Linked DNA regions of Homo sapiens: region 2 is linked to region 1. Evidence: promoter capture Hi-C in human tissues and cell types (Jung and others, 2019). All regions are on one chromosome and are shown on one strand. The core of a region is centred on a gene start or on the middle of the fragment in contact, and the rest is flanking DNA. Distances in the headings are between cores, read along the strand shown.

Region 1 (3,163 bases), core at 415-2,914:
ATCCCAGAGCTGCATAAAACTCTTTCAGACTTTAGTTTATTTCCTCAGTATAGATGTCCAGAGGCAGGAACACTAGGCCAAAAGATTTATGTTTTAAGGCTCTTGATATTTTTAAGCAGCATAATTTTTTTTGTATTTCCTGTAAAATATGTAAGAGTCTTCATTTCCAATTTATGGATGAGGAATTTCAGAAAGGAAAATAAATGCCCTATGTACATGAAACCAAGTAAACTAATGGAAAAATGAGAAAGAAATATTCAAACAGGTTTTTGATATCACAGAGATCCTGGACTCTGTAAGTATCTGAAATTGAACTGAAGATAAGGAACAAGCTGAGGTCACACAATTATTGTGGGACAAAAATTGGAGTGGGTTTCTATGTTATGTGAGAGCAAGTTCATTGCAAGATTTCTTTAACCATGAAGCAAAAGAGGAAATACCAATTATAACCACATATACTTCATGAGATATGCTAAATGAGCAAAATAATGATTTGCATATGAACAAGGGAAAAACACACTTTATATGGAAACTATACACACACACATACACACACACAGATTTCAATAGAATGTATTTAGAGAACTTATGATTCATTAAGAGTAGGGAGAGACCACAAAAATGGGCAAATGACATTAATGGGCAATTTATAAAATGATAAAATTAGTAATAAAATATTTACTCTTATAAATCAACAAAATACAAAGGAAGTCAACAATGTGTATTTTTTACTTGTCAATTTGCCAAACACTTAAAAAGTGCTTTCATACACTGTTATTGGAAGTGTAGACTGATGTAATCTTTCTAGAGGGTAATTGGGCAATGTGTAGCAAGATCCTTACATTTTCCTCAGTTACTGACCCAGTAATTCCACTTCTTAGAGAAATAATTAAAGATTTGCAAAAAGCAAAAAAAATTATGTAGCTGGTTGCTCATCACAGCATTATTTGTAAAAATGAAAAAGCAGGAATTGACTAAATGACAGAATATTATTAGCAATTTCAACTGTTTTAAATAAATTGCTAATGCCATAGGAAAATTTCTGTAATACAATTTAAGTGAAATATTTCAGAAATAGTGCTGCATACATAATCAGGTAGCTATCTGAAAACATTAATAGTACTTATCTCTAGGTGAAATTATTTGGTCATTTTAACATTTTTCTTAATAATTAGGATAATGTGATTTACCAAATGAGATACTATGAAAATGAAGGATATAGAATTTGTATTACAATTTTCTTTTTCCAATCACAAAACATGACATGTCTATTTGTATATCTCATGCATTGTGTTAGGAAATGTTTGCTAGATATTTATTCATTTATTCAAGGATTATTAGAGGATTATGATTATTCAGTGATAAATTTCAGTGGTCTTTATTATTCTCATCTCATGGTGGTATATATGAGTAGCAAGGAAGGAGAAGCCAGCTGCATTGGTCTTAAAAAGAAACCATTCAATTTAGACAATCTAAATTATAATAATCAGTTCCTCTTCCCACTTTACACTCACCTATCATATCCCAGCCCTCCAGGAACCAGCATCCCCAAAAGATAAAGGGTTTCAAGCAGAGGCTTCATTCTGCCACACAGTAAGTTAGAAAATTCTGGGCCTCTCTGGCAGTGGATCAAGTGTCCTTGAGAATGAATGCATCAAGACTGTGGCTCCCACAATCAAGATGAGATAAATCAGTTAGTGGATGTCTCAGCAGAAAGTCACGGGCAATTGCTTTATTAACTCTCTCATGTCCTCAAACACCTTTTCCAGTGTGGGAAATGCTGTACCATTTGATATTTCATTTCTTCTCTAAAACCAAATTTACGTGAGCTCTCAACTTCACCAGATCCTGAAATAAATTTCCTCCCTATGTAAAGTCACCTTGGAGTATTTCTAGGAACCCCCATCACTCGTGCTCAGGAGCAATCATTCCTGCTCTTCCCCTCACACAGGTTGAATGGGAATAGTAGGCTAGTCTTTGTGAATCATGAGCCTGTTCATGAGACCAGAAAGAACACTCTGCTCTGGTCAAAATGGACATGGTCATTATTCAGAATCTCCACTTCCTCCTTCAATCTAAGGCTTTGATTGGGGTCAAATGCCTTCTCTTTTTCTGATGAACCACATCACCAGCTTCTTAAACAAACCCAGATCTCTTCAAATCTGAGCAGTGAAGACAGTTTCAATCCTTTCCCATGTGGATTTTACCCCACGCCCCTCTTACATGAAGGACTCTGTCAGATACTCCGCCATGTTTTCAGACATAGCCAAGTTATGCTTGAATCTCATTGACCAGTAAAATTAAAGACTCATGTTAAGACCATTGCTAATAGTCTAACTGAGCAAGGCAAACTTTAGCGCAGAGCAGGTAGAGTATTTAAATGGAGTCCTTGGCATTTAGGGACCCAGTTTAAATCTTCTGCCCTGTATTCATGTATTCATTCTACAAAAATCTCATGAGTACCACTGTATACCAGACACTATGCTAGATACTTAAGATACAAGGGTGAACAAGGCAGAGTCCCTTCTTTTATGGAACTCACAGTAGAGTTGAGAGAAAAATAAACGAGTATACAAACAAATGTTACAGTTTCAAGTAAAGAGAATGCAGTTAAAAAACTAGAGGAGATAAGCGCTTCCATGCTGTCTCCAGGCATGCCATCCACCCAGTCCCTCCATGTGTTTAGCAACCCAGAGGCTCTCCAAACTCTGTTCCCTTGTGTTTTTATGAAGACTTCATTACATAGGTATGATTGATCATATCATTGGTCATTGGTGATTAAATAAATCTCCAGTCCCTCTTTCCTCCCCAGAGATGGGAGGGGATTACTGAATAACATGGCTGATTCTCCTGGCAACCAGCCGCTATCCTTAGAAACTTTCCAAAAGTTACCTGTTCACTTAAACTTAGACATAGTCAAAAGGGACGTCATGAATAACAAAAATGGCCCTTTCACCTTTATTGATCTTATCACTGAGGAAATTCCAAGGGTTTTAGGAGCTCTGTGTCAGGAACCAGGGACAAAGACAAAATATGTATTTCCTATTGTATCACAATATCACGATGGTGTTTAAAGCCACTGGGCTAGAGGAGTTCATCTAGGGTGTGGGTATAGACAGAGAAAGACAAAGACTGAGACCTGGGCTGACCTAACATTTAGAGG
Region 2 (3,163 bases), core at 404-2,903, 40 kb after region 1:
TCAATGTGATACATCAATTCAACAGAATAAAGGCCAAAACCATATGATCATTTCAACTGGTGCTGAAAAAGCATTTGATAAAATTCAACATTCATTCATGATAAAAGCCCCCCAAAAACTGGATATAGAAGGAACATACCTTAACATGATAAAAAACCATATACAACAGATCCATACTGAATGGGGAAAAACTGAAAGCCTTTCCTCTAAGATCTGGACCAAGACAAGGATGCCCACTTCTACCACTGTTATCAACATAGTACTGGAACTCCTAACTAGAGCAATTTGACAAGAGAAAGAAATAAAGGGCATCCAGACTGGAAAAGAAGAAGTCAAATTTTGCTTGTTTTCAGATGACATGGCTTATTTTTGGAAAAAACTAAAGAGTACCCTGAAAATCTATTACAGTGGATAAACAAATTCAGTAAAGTTGCAGGACACAAAATCAACATACAAAAATCAGTAACATTTCTATGTGCCAACAGTGAACAATTAGAAAAAAGAAATCAAGAAAGTAATCCCATTTATAGTGGCTACAAATAAAACAAGACACCTAGGAATATACTTAACTAAAGAAGTGAAAGATCTCTACAATGAAAATGTAAAACATGATGCAAGAAATTTAAGAGGACACCAAAAAGAAAAGGAAAGATATTCCATGATCATGGGTTGGAAGAATCAATATTGTTAAAATGGCTATACTACCTAAAGCAATCTACAGAATCAATGCAATTCCTATGAAAATACCAATGACATTCTTCACAGAAATAGAAAAGGTAATGCTGGCCCTCCTCCCAAGATGGCCAAACAGGAACAGCTACCAGTGATATCGATGTAGAAGACGGACGATTTCTGCATTTCCAACTGAGGTACCTGGTTCATCTCATTGGGACTGGTTGGACAGTGGGTGCAGCCCACAGAGGGTGAGCCAAAGCAGGGCAGGGCATTGCCTCACCCGGGAAGTGCAAGGGGTAGGGGGATTTCCCTTTCCTAGCCAAGGGAGGCCATGAGTGACTGTACCTGGAGGAGTGGTACACTCCTGCCCAAATACTGTGTTTTTCCCATGGTCTTCACAACTGGCAGACCAGGAGATCCCCTCCCATGCCTGGCTCAGCAGGTACCACACCCACGGAGCCTTGCTCACTGCTAGTGCAGCAGTCTGAGATCGATCTGGGATGCTGGAGCTTGGCAGGGGGAGGGGTGGCCACCATTGCTGAGGCTTGAGTAGGTGGTTCTATGCTCACAGTGTAAACAAAGCAGCAGGGAAGCTCTATCTGGGTGGAGCCCACCGTAGCTCAGCAAGGCCTACTGCCTCTCTAGATTCCACCTCTGGGGGCAGGACATACCTGAACAAAAGGCAGCAGACAGCTTCTACAGACTTAAACATCCTTGCCTGACAGCTCTGAAGAGAGCAGTGGTTCTCCCAGTACAGCATTCAAACTCCGATAATGGACAGACTGCATCCTCAAGTGGGTCCCTGACCCCCGTGTAGCCTGACTGGGAGACACCTCCCAGTAGGGGCTGACAGACACCTCATAGGTGGCTGCCCCTCTGGGATGAAGCTTCCAGAGAAAGGATCAGGCAGCAATATTTGCTGTTCTGCAGCATCTGCTGGTGACACCCAGGGTCTGGAGTGGACCTCCAGCAAACTCCAACAGATCTGCAGCTGAGGGGCCCATATGTCAGAAGGAAAACTAACAAACAGAAAAGAATAGCATCAATATCAACAAAAAGGACATCCACACCAAACCCCATCCTTAGGTCACCAACATCAAAGACCAAAGGTAGATAAAACCACAAAGATGGGGAGAAACCAGAGCAGAAAGGCTGAAAATTCCAAACACCAGAATGCCTCTTCTCCTCCAAAGGAACACAACTCCTCACCAGCAAGGGAACAAAACTGAATGGAGAATGAGTTTGACGAACTGACAGAAGTAGGCTTCAGAAGGTCGGGAATAACAAACTTCTCCAACTAAAGGAGCATATTCTAACCCATTGCAAGGAAGCCAAAAACCTTGAAAAAAGGTTAGATGAATGGCTAACTAGAATAATCAGTGTAGAGAAGAGCTTAAATGACCTGATGAGCTGAAAACCACAGTATGAGAACTTCGTAAAGCATACACAAGTTTCAGTAGCCAATTTGATCAAGCAGAAGAAAGGATATCAGTGATTGAAGATCAAAATAATGAAATAAAGTGAGATGACAAGATTGGAGAAAAAAGAGTAAAAAGAAATGAACAAAGCCTCCAAGAAATATGGGACTATGTGAAAAGATCAAATCTACGTTTGATTGGTGTACCTGAAAGTGACGGGGAGAATGGAACCAAGTGAGAAAACACTCTTCAGGATATTATCCAGAAAAACTTCCCCAACCTAGCAAGGCAGGCCAACATTCAAATTCAGGAAATACAGAGAACACCATAAACATACTCCTCGAGAAGATCAACCCCAAGACATAATTGTCAGATTCACCAAGGTTGAAATGAAGGAAAAAGTGTTAAGGGCAGCCAGAAAGAAAGGTCGAGTTACCCACAAAGGGAAGCCCATCAGACTAACAGTGGATCTCTCTCGGCAGAAACCCACAAGCCAGAAGAGAGTGGGGGCCAATGTTCAACATTCTTAAAGAAAAGAATTTTTAACCCAGAATTTCATATCCAGCCAAACTAAGCTTCATAAGTAAAGGAGAAATAAAATCCTTTACAGACAAGCAAATGCTGAGAGATTTTGTCACCTCCAGGCGTGCCTTACAAGAGCTCCTGAAGGAAGCATTAAATATGGATAGGAACAACCGGTACCAGCCACTGCAAAAACATACCAAATTGTAAAGACCACTGACACTATGAAGAAATTGCATTAATTAATGGGTGAAATAACCAGCTAGCATCATGATGACAGCACCAAATTCACACATAACAATGTTAACCTTCAATGTAAATGGGCTAAATGCCCCAATTAAAAGACACAGAATGGCAAATTGGATAATGAGTCAAGACCCATTGGTGTGCTGTATTCAGGAGACCCATCTCTCTCACATGCAAAGACACACATAGGCTCAAAATAAAGGGATGGAGGAAGATCTACCAAGCAAATGGAAAGCAAAAAAAACATGGGGGTTGCAATCCTGGTCTCTGATAAAACAGACTTTAAACCAACAAAGATCAAA

The links. Contacts are between HindIII fragments. The study calls those that stand out against the background at their distance.
Region 2: a fragment that was not itself captured here is called in contact with the fragment with the promoter of CPO in region 1 in 2 of the 25 tissues and cell types used here (bladder and hippocampus).

The regions. Positions count from the first base shown.
Region 1 is chr2:206,938,019-206,941,181 of GRCh38, reverse strand. CPO (carboxypeptidase O) reads right to left here and starts at 1,664. Exons shown (of 9, transcript NM_173077.3): 1 at 1,515-1,664. The coding sequence starts at 1,582. The HindIII fragment of the contact is 12,088 bases long and covers 1-3,163 here.
Region 2 is chr2:206,897,982-206,901,144 of GRCh38, reverse strand. No RefSeq gene overlaps it. Among named protein-coding and RNA genes, the nearest start is that of CPO, 40 kb to the left of the region's middle. The HindIII fragment of the contact is 3,919 bases long and covers 1-3,163 here.